2 separate regions of the Homo sapiens genome follow, and region 2 is linked to region 1. Evidence: promoter capture Hi-C in human tissues and cell types (Jung and others, 2019). All regions are on one chromosome and are shown on one strand. Each heading gives the region's core, a stretch centred on a gene start or on the middle of the fragment in contact. The rest is flanking DNA. Distances are from core to core; before and after follow the strand shown.

Region 1 (5,298 bases), core at 1,186-3,685:
TATAGAATACATACATTTTTGAACAATGACTCACCAGTATGCTTTATTAAAAGGAATTCGCTTCTAATTTTGTTTCCTCTTTTGGGAAAAGTAACAATGCTTACCAACTTTCTTCCCCTTTTTATGTCATGTGAAACTATCATATGCAATGCCATATGGTAAACATGACAAATGGTGCAAAACACTGTTTTGACTGAAACTCATTTGCCTCCTGCTAAACATCAATTCCCAGATTTAAAAATATTGTTATTTAAATGCCAACCATTTCTAGGTCACACCTACATGAAGTAAGCAAAACATACCATGATAGTTGACCAAACTATTTCATTTCATACATCTCTTATGGCAAGAACTATAAGGCATAAAATGCCTTCCTAGCCAACTTAACTCAAAGACATAAATCTATCCCTTTAGTCATACCCTCAGGCCTACCCTCACTTAGCTAAAGTTAGTGCCTGTAAAAGTTCTGATAAATCTACGTTATTCTGGAATGCAGAAAAATATCAAGGGAAGAAAGCTGAATGCTAGCAACAATTTATGCCCCTCCAAAATTATTGAGAAAATTAGCTTTATACAAGCATAGATGAGAACTTATCCCAAACCCTTCAGTATTATACCTCTCAAACCAAGATTCTGTCTATGATTTGCATTACACATAGAGACAAGATGTCAAGCTGCCTAGCTTCAAACAAAGGCAGAGGTTAAAAAAAAAAAAACTAATAAAACAGTTCTCATTCCCTACATAGAGAAAAATAACTGTGCCTCTCTCCAACAGTTTCCAACAAAACAAAAAAAAATTATGTAATAGACAAATTTTGTTTCATTTAATCCTCATAACAACTCATTTCTTATTTACGGAAAATGTCACAGAATTAGTAAATGGCAGAGCTGAACCCAGCTTGACTCCCAAATTTGGAATTTAGTATTTTGAAACATTTGTTTTTGCCATAATCCATAATACACTTTACATTTCCATCTTCCTCTTGACACACACATACTGTTAAAAACTGAAACAAAAGCTTCTTGCCATAATATTTACTTTTATTCCATACAATGTCCTCTGGTATTTTTTCTTTCTTTATAAAGCTTATGTCAATGTACTAAATTGATTCTAAAATCTATTAATGAATCCTTATGGGCCCTGCACTACAGCACTGCACTACACTTCCTGCACTACAGCACTGCACTACACTTCTTACCTCCTGTTTAAAGTTCTTTTTAATTGCTATCACTGTCCAGTTTTGTTACTTCGAGATGGAGCTAATGTCCACCCATTAAAAAACTGTGCTTAAATAGCATAAACTCTTGAAAGCCCTACCTTAAATCTTGAATTGATCTGTTTCTCCAGAAGAACTCTTTGGAGGCACAGCCACCTTACTTATTTATATTGTATCAAAAACTGCAGATGTTCTCCTTGGAGAACAAACACATCATTGTTGAAAGGAATGCATCAGTTTTCACTGTTTCTGCTGCATCACTGACGAACAGTAATAGCCGGGCAGGTTTGGGGCAACAAGAGAGGACCCGAGCAGCTGCCCACGGTGCTGAAACTGATGATGAAACGACAGTTTTGGAAATTTACTATTTACTATTGTCAGATTAGGACAAAATAGAGGAATTTACCAGACACTGGCAGAGAAAACTGAGTGGCCGCCACCAAAGTTGCATGAGTGCTTCCGGGATACTGCTGTTTGGCTTCGATGTCTGCCCACTCTCTCTTTCTCTCTGGGACAAAGTTATTTAATAAGTGCAAGTCAAGTCAAGTCAAGCATACAGGCAGAGCTGCTGACTGACCGTAGTATCTGGCCCTAGCAGGGGTTAAGTCCCAAACCTGCAATCTGAGCTTCCAGGGAAAGAAAAAGGGGGTGGGGGTAAAAGAGAGGAAGTGACTGCCCTCCTTCTATTCAGAGACAAAACAGCCCCCTCAACTAAAGTCAAGCGATGTGCCCGAGGACGTTGCGGCAGGTACTTGACCAAGAAAAGCCTTCCAAACATGTTTTCCAGGCAGGCTCTTGCAGCCTCAAGAAGGGAATGAGAGAAGCAAAACCGGTAACTCAACTTTGGACACACACAAACTCGCGGAATGAGAGTGCAGGGGAGACTCGGTCCCCCGAGGGCAAGGCTATTTTATTCCTTTTGCAAAAAGCCTAATTGACTTCTCACCCAGCTCTAGAGGAGCAGCAAAGACCTCAGCAGCAGGGCCGACTCCGAGCTCGAGGGCCAACAAGCGGGGTATGTTCTCTGGGCCGCTCGATAACGAGCTGCCCGGCTGCCGCGAAGCCGGACAGGGTCTTACCTTGAAGTCCGGCCCCCGCAACACAAACAGTCTTGCCAGCCGCGTCGCTGCGGGAGAAGTCCCTACCCTGATTTCATGACTGAATATCCGCACCGACCCCCACAGCCCGGAGTACTAGCAGGGACGACAACACCTAGGCGAAGCGGAAGTCCCGCCCCACGCGCCTCATTGGTCCGCACCCAAAGGCACAGAAAACCCACTGGGCAACATGGTTGCCTGTTAAGGCTCTTTCCCACTCTCACGCGGAGTCTCGCTACTTGCTCTAGCCCGGCTCGGAGAAATGCCCAGTTTGCGAGTCTCGTTCTTGGCCGCGTGATCCGTCTTCCCTGGAAGGGAAGAGCAGGGTGGGGCAGGCGTCTGCGGAACTGGAGCGCGGCTGAAGAAGCTGCTCTTGGCAGAGGAAGGGGCAGGCTGGCAAAGTGGATTGGCTGTGGGCGCCTGCCGCTAACCATGTGCCCCTAGAAACGGAGACCGTAGGGTCTGGAGGGCGCGGGACCGAGCGGGCAGGGCCGGTCGGTCTGATCTGCTCCGGCTGTTGGGACAGAGTAGCCCAAGATTCGGCTGCCGGGCTGCCCCCGGGCGGGCCTGGCCCTGGCGCTGACGCGTCTCTTCCCTGCACACTACACTCACCCGACCTACTAAAGAGGCGAGGGCGAGGCCTCATCCGCCCGCCTTCCGTACCGTGCCCAGTCTGAGATCAGAGTGGGTGGGGACCGTGGCCACACCTTAAAGTAGGGCTCAAATTGTTAGAGATGCGAGCGGCCCGAGGTCTGAACGCCAGTCCCCTGAGGCCTGGCTCGGATCCACGCTGGCATCAGCACTCTGGGCCTGACACGCGCCATCCCCGGGGCTTAGCAAAAGTCAAACCATGTGATTCAGGCCCTAGGTCAGCCTTTTAAAACCCTTGCCTCCTTTTGATGAACCAAAAATCTCCTCCCCTGCCGCCCTTCTGATAAGCCTTCCTTTCTGGTTGTCTCAATCTTAAACCAGTCGAAACTTAAATTACCGGATTGTACCATCCACATTGATTAATCATTGCCAACTCGCCACCTTACAAAAGCAGTGTGACTTAGGCAAATATTACAGAGTCCTGAAAGAAATGTCAGGAGACATAGAATCAGGCACTACTTCTGCTTCAAATAATAAGGCACCCTTAATAAGGCCTTTACAGGCTTCAACTCCTTCAACATCATCTTTTAAAAATGGTGGCGAGGAGGCTATCACACAGAGTATTAGTAGAATACCATTGGATGTAACTTGTCACTTTGATTGCTTGGAGAGCCCTGAGTAGGTGGGACACAGCAATGGGGAAAAGACTCTTTCCTTATTGTGTATCCTTTTGTGCCTTTTGAATTTTGAACCTTGCAAATATTACCTACTCAAATAAAATTCAAATACAAGAAATTTAAGATCAAATTTTAAAAAATTAAATAAAAGCTATCAAAGGTACTTTCCTCTTCTGTGTATCCTATGAGTATTCTATGTAGTCTTAACTTTTCATTGGTTGCAAAGACATTCAATACTTAAATCACAATTCTGCCTTTAAGAAAGTCATAAATAAAAGTCAGCATTGGGAATATTACTAAGAAGACTAATTAGTATAAACACATTTATAATATCTCTATAAGCATTTTTTTCATTAAATTATCCCAAATTGGTATATTAAATCAGATTTCTTGCATAACATCAAAATAAATTTTTTTAGGCCGGGTGCGGTGGCTCATGCCTGTAATCCCAGCACTTTGGGAGGCCAAGTCAGGCGGATCACTTGAGGTCAGGAGTTCAAGACCACACTGGCCAACATGGTGAAACCTCGTCTCTACTAAAAATACAAAATTAGCCGGGCATTGTGGTGCACACCTGTAATCCCAGCTACTTGGGAAGCTGAGGCAGGAGAATCGCTTGAACATGGGAGGCAGAGGTTACAGTGAGCTGAGATCCCACCACTGCACTCGGGCATAGGCAACAGAGCAAGATTCCATCTCCAAAAAAAAAAAAAAAAATTAAGTCCACAGAGAGGAGCTTTGGGTTTTGTTGTTTTATTTTTATTTATTTTAGAGACAAGGTCTCACTCTGTTGCCCAGGCTGGAGTGCAGTGGTGAGATCATGTCTCACTGCAGTCCAGAACTCCTGGGCTCAAGTAATCCTCCCACCTCAACCTCTGGAGTAGCTAGGATTACAGGCATGTGCCACCAGGCCTGGCTAATTTTTTTATTTTTTTTAGCCTTACAGTCTGGCTATGTTGCCCAGGCAGGTCTCAAACTCCTGGCCTCAAAGGATCTTCTTGCCTCGGTCTCCCAAAGTGCTAGGATTACAGGCATGAGTCACCACGCTCAGACAAAGAGCTTTGCTTATTCCTTAAAGGCACCTTGAGTACAGAATATTTTACTTCTGGTTTCAACCTGCTCTTCAGATAACAATAGGTATAGTTCTCTCAACTATGAACAAGGTAATGTGTCATTTGTACTGCATTTAGGCTACACTCTGCAAAAACATTTACTCTCCCAACCTGTGCTGAAAAAGGTAAATTGGAAAAAAATATATTGGAAAAATGTATTAATCTTTCTAAAGCAGATTAGACAGTAAGATTGACAGATATCATAATTACAATTTTCAAGAACATGAAGGGTTAATAAGGCACGTGATACTAATATACCACTAATTATCTTTTTAAAAATCAAAATGTGCTTTTAGGGTGTTGTATCTAACAGGTTTTTTTTTTAAACCTTCCTAAAAAGTACAAACAGATAGCACGTAAAAGTAATTGTAGAATCTCCTGCTTCCAAAATATTGTAAGGCAACAACAACAAAAAAAGACAGATACCCAATTATGTAATTGTCTGAAATGGCTTAGAAATAGTTCTCCCTAAATACCAGAAAGAATGCAGGCTGTCTCCTTAAGCACAGAGATTAATCAGAAACCTTAAACAATTCTATATATTATCATATTTAGAAACAGAAAAAAAGTAATTTTAGAATCAGAAAAAAGGTATTTTCATTTT
Region 2 (5,774 bases), core at 3,265-5,764, 560 kb after region 1:
TTTATAGTGTCATAATTCTTATAATACATATAATTTTTACATTTAATCTAGTGATGTGTTTATATTAAATTTGCTCAAAAGCCCTAAAAATTCAGACTTTCTAGAATTGAAAACTATTTATTTAACTTACTTTCCATAGAGTACATTATGTTAAAAGCCACTATAAACATCTTATGGTTTAGTTTATGAAGTTTAGATATAGGAATCCCTGGAGGAAACACTTTATATGAAAAAAGCCATAGAGATTTCTCCCAACTTCTTAGGTCTGTGATAATTCATTCACTGGGACTTGTGCCTTTCTACGGACTATCCAAAATCAGGAAGTCAATTGATCAAATTTTTCACAAGTACACAATCTCCTTATGTGGAAAACACTGTATGCAGATCAACCATTTGGCTAGATTTGAATATGGACCGTCTATACTTCATGTCTATTCCTTTTTCTGTTCTCATCCACAGAAAGGAGTAGACAAAGAGTTTTACCTACTTGCCACAATATTTGATGAAAATGAAAGTAATCTCTTGGATGAAAATATCAGAACATTTATCACAGAGCCTGAAAACATAGATAAAGAGGATACAGACTGCCAAGCCTCAAATAAGATGTACTGTAAGAAACAATTTAACTTATAAGATAAATGCATTAAACACTTAATTTTATTTTGCCTAAAGAATTATGGATTAAAAGAGACTTAGGTTTTCCCCACAACGGTTGGCTAATACGTTTATGTTTCCTTTAAATATCATTTCCTGGCCACATGCGATGGCTCACGCCTGTAATCCCAGCACTTTGGGAGGCCGAGGTAGGTGAATCATCCGAGGTCAGGAGTTTGAGACAAGCCTGGCCAATATGGTGAAGCCCCATCTCTACTAAAAATACAAAAATTAGCTGGGAGTGGTGGCAGGTGCCTGTAATCTCAGCTACTTGGGAGGCTGAGGCAGGAGAATCGCTTGAACCTGGGAAGTGGAGGTTGCAGTGAGCTGAGATCGCGCCATTGCCCTCCAGCCTGAGTAACAAGAGCAGAACTCCATACCAAAAAATAAGTAAATATATAAATAATAAATAAATATCATTTCCCAAGAAGAATATTGTCTACTAGGGTGATTATTTTGAATTTAACTTACCAAATATTTACCAACACCTTCTTGGTGCAATATATTTTATCTATAGCTAAATGTGAAAAGTCACGTACTTCTCTACTGCCAAATTCGTAGAGTGGGTGGAGTAGGGTGTTTGTTGAGCTGGTTGGGTGGGTTGGTGGGTGGCTGGTTGGTTGGTTGTTGGTTTTTGAAGACTGTACAGTGCATTGGGAAAAGGGTTGATCCAGAATCTGGAGACTTGGACTTTGGTCTTAACATTGTCATTTGTTAGCCGTATGACATTGGACAAGAAACTATTTCTCTGGCCTTAGTTTCCTCAACTCTAAAAGGAAGAGCTTGACTGGAATAACCCAATGAGGGTATCATGGAATTCTGTCATTCTCTAATTCTATAATGTCATTTTTAGCCCCCATGAAGTGATTAAATAACAATAGAGGAAAGGAAAGTTGAAAAAATTGCTTTTTTTTACGTGAATGAGCTGCTTCATGATTAATGCTTTGTTGGGTTTCAAAAGATATCAAGTACCAGTGAATTAAATACTCTTTCCTTTGTTACAAATACCTTGCAGCCATAAATGGATACATGTATGGAAATCTGCCTGGATTGGACACGTGCTTAGGAGACAACGTTTTGTGGCACGTTTTTAGTGTAGGATCAGTGGAAGATTTACACGGGATATATTTTTCAGGAAATACCTTCACTTCTTTAGGAGCAAGAAGGGACACAATACCTATGTTTCCTTATACTTCTCAGACGCTTTTGATGACACCTGATTCTATAGGTGAGCAGTGGGTCTTCTCATTCAGCCTGAAACATTAAAGTATGCAGAAGCACTATCTTTATACGCACTGAATATTCTGTACAGGAAAAAAAAATTGAACTGATACAAACAATGCTTGAGAAATCTTTGCCCTGCTCCACTTCATTTATAAGAGCCTTAGTATTTCATTTTCCTATACACATAAATCACCTCAGTTTTTTCAGGTCCTCTTCCTAGTCCTTCAGGCTTTAAACCATCCCAATGCTCTTCAAAAATGATGAAGATGTTTTAAACCCTTTAAACTCATTTTCATTCTGTTGTCTTCTGCATTTCTTACTCTTCTGTCCATTTGTTTCCCAGGCCTTCCTGCTGCTTCGACCTTACCCTACTGCCTTGTGACTTCCTCTTTCTATCCTCCTTACTAGCTTTGCTCTCTGGATAAATGTTTTAGCTTCAGTGAGGTTGATCCTTGCTGGCAACATTTTTTTTTTTTAAAGAAGGCACCCCATATCAAAGAACTGTGTGGGGATCAAAGGAAACCAGCCTTCCTTCTGAACCTCGTTTCCTCATTTGTAAAATAGGAATTGTAAAAACTTGTAATTTGCAAAAAGGAATAGACAGTGATCAATGAGATAGGTAAAGTATAGTAAACTGCCTGGCATATGTTAGACTTTCAATAAATGCTAGTTCCTTCTTTAATCCAGTAGATCCACCCTTGTCCCATATACCTGCCCCCCCGCCCCAAAATACATCTATCTTGGTCAAAAATGACTGATATCAACCAAAATCTGGCTATATGATAAACAAACTACTCTGTAAATACTATGAATTGGTATCTTGACTCTTTGTGATGCCAAATATTCATTTGACTACATTTTCTTCATTTCAAAATTTAAAATTTTACTTTTCAAACAAACAAAAGTTGTGATTCAGAGTAATTGGAGGGGAAAAGAAAGCGATCTTTGGCCCAGCGCGGTGGCTCACACCTGTAATCCCAGCACTTTGGGAGGCTGAGACGGGCGGATCATGAAGTCAGGAGATTGAGACCATCCTGGCTAACATGGTGAAACCTTGTGTCTACTAAAAATACAAAAAAATTAGCTGGGCATGGTGGCAGGCGCCTGTAGTCCCAGCTAGTCGGGAGGCTGAGGCTGGAGAATGGCATGAACTCAGGAGGCGGAGCTTGCAGTGAGCCGAGATCGTGCCACTGCACTCCAGCCTGGGCGACAGAGCAAGACTCGGTCTCACACACAAAAAAAAAAAAAAAAAAAAAAAAAGAGAGAGAGATCTTTCTCTGGTGCTTTTTTTTTTCCTCCTCTTTTTTAGAGGATGTACCTGCATGCTCATTCAGGGACAAGTTATTTCTTTTTCCTGCCCCAGTCCTTCCTCTCCTTTCCCCTGCAGGTGTTTTTCTGGATTTAAAAACTACCTTGTCTCATTCTCTTTTCCAAAGCATATCAACTGTAGCAAACAAGTGGAGACAGGTACACTATGTGTTAAACACGGTGCTAGAGCTTATACAGGGATTATGTCATTTTCAACAAATTCTTTTTCTCAAACCCTCTGAGTCTGAAGGTTTTGCTTCCTTGTACATCTTCCTAAACCTTACCCTCCACAAAAGTCACAGCAACAACAGAAATACGTAGAGTTGAAAGAGAGCTTTCGTCAAGAAGCAGTGTCAGCACGTGGTGGGCCTAAAATTACCAAGGTAAAAGAAAGAAAACTGGAATTCAGGTGGAATGTTCTGGTCAGAATCAGGCTAGAGTTTTTTTGTTATGGTGGTTTGTTTTTGTTTTTGTCATTGTTTTGGATTTTTAATGTATTTTTAATGTATTGAACTTTTTTTCACTCCCTCCTCTGCTACCTACCACTCTGATCAAAGCCATCATCTCTCATCGATTATTTTTAATAGCCTCTCAACAGATCCCGTTTCTTTCACCATTGTACACGCCAGCCTATTCTCAGCACAGCTGCTAGAGTGTCCTTATACCCTTCATTGACTTAAAATCCCACAGTGGCTCTCCATTTCACTTAGTGAATGCTATCATGTATTCAGTGGCCCACAAGGGCTCCATCACCTAGCCCTCTGCTCCCTAGTACTTTCACCCTTGCTCCCTCCCTCCAGACACACAGGCCTCTTGGGTGCTCTTCACACACACCAAACAGGCTCCTGGCCTGGGGCCTTTGCCACCTGTTTATTCTGCCTAGAGAGAACACACTTTTCCTCCAGACCCATATCATCTCTTATAAATTTTTGCCCAGGTATCACCCTCTCATCGAGGCCTACCCTGCTTACCCTATGATATTGCTCACTGCTCTCTTGAGCCCTTCCCAACACACACCCAGAATCCTCAGTCCTCCTTACACTGTTTTACTTTTTTTCTTTAATCATAGCTCTTATCACCTTCCAGCATACATACAAGTTGCTTAACATGTTTATTGTTTGTCTCCACAACACCTTGCAATATGAACTCTGAGAGCAAGAATTTTTAACTATTTTGTTCTCTGATGTTTCCCGAATGCCTAGAAATATGTCTGACACAAAGAAGGTCATCAATAAATATTTGTTGAATTAATGAAAGAATGAACAAATGATTTTACTATATTTCTTTTGAGGGTTGCAGCTTATTAATAATTTTACAGAGGAAAGAAATCTGAAGGCAAGGCTTTAACCATTCCTTTCTTATTCGTCTGTAGGAACTTTTGATTTGGTTTGCATGACAATAAAGCACAATCTAGGAGGCATGAAACATAAATATCACGTGAGGCAATGTGGGAAGCCAAACCCTGATCAAACACAATACCAGGAGGAGAAAATAATTATTACCATTGCAGCCGAGGAAATGGAATGGGATTATTCTCCTAGTAGAAAGTGGGAGAATGAACTCCACCACTTACGAAGAGAGAAGTACCATGATAGCTCCAGTCTCTAAATGGGAAGGGTTCTAAGGGTTCTTTCTGAGTCTTCCTCTCTTTCCTTTCAGTCTCTCTGTGTGTGTCTGTGTCTGTGTGTGTGTTGTATTTATTTGTGTTTGGTATGGTGGGTGTGTGTGGTATATTTATTTGTGTTTGTTATGGTGTACGTGTGCATAATGGATATGTGGATGTGGTATTTGTGTGTTTAGGATATTCTCCATTATAAATCACTTCAAAATTTGTGTGTGTGTGTGTGTGTGACATATTCAATTGCAAAGGGCTTCAAATCTTTCTAAATATCTATATAACTTACTTATGGGCTTTATTTCTTCCTGCCTGAGTTTTCACTTCTTGCATCCTTCCTGGACATATGTTACTGTCTGATCTCACCACAGGAATAGTGACATAACTTCAGCTACATTCAGTATCTACAGTCAGGTGTTTCTTTTGTCTTCATTTTCTTCTACCTCTATTCTTCTGAGAACTTCAAATTAAAGACACCTGTTTTTCTCTTTTTGTACAATTTGATTTCTCTCTCTGGTTTTCTCTCTTACTGTATATTTATTTATAAAAACTAAATTTTATCCTGAAAATAAGCTTTGAAATGTAGAATGAATATCTACCTATCTTGCTAGAATTAATATATATTTTTAAAAAGATGACTTACATTTTTAGGTAAAACAGCTTCTAGATATAAGAAGTTCTTCCATATGAGTTCTTTGTCTAAATTAATGGTTAAATTAACTAACTTTGTGGGGTTTTTTTGTTTTTGTTTTTATTTTCTTAAAGCCAAACGAGCATGTATGTGGACAGAAGTGGAACACTTCTTGGGTCCAAATACAAGAAAGTCTTATATCGTCAATATGATGATAACACGTTCACAAATCAAACAAAAAGGAATGAAGGTGAAAAACATCTCGATATACTAGGTATTGGTATGCCATAAGATTGGTTTTCGAGTTTTTCTTGTCCTCAGCCATTAGAGATTGTTGTACAC

Evidence for each region. Contacts are between HindIII fragments. The study calls those that stand out against the background at their distance.
Region 2: a fragment that was not itself captured here is called in contact with the fragment with the promoter of RNF13 in region 1 in 1 of the 25 tissues and cell types used here (hippocampus).

Annotation. Positions count from the first base shown.
Region 1 is chr3:149,810,352-149,815,649 of GRCh38, reverse strand. RNF13 (ring finger protein 13) reads right to left here and starts at 2,435. Exons shown (of 10, transcript NM_183381.3): 1 at 2,297-2,435. RefSeq lists enhancers at 2,592-2,701, 2,567-3,078 and a silencer at 2,912-3,061. The HindIII fragment of the contact is 17,546 bases long and covers 1-5,298 here.
Region 2 is chr3:149,248,954-149,254,727 of GRCh38, reverse strand. It overlaps the pseudogene CPHL1P. Among named protein-coding and RNA genes, the nearest start is that of CP, 30 kb to the right of the region's middle. The HindIII fragment of the contact is 3,740 bases long and covers 2,645-5,774 here.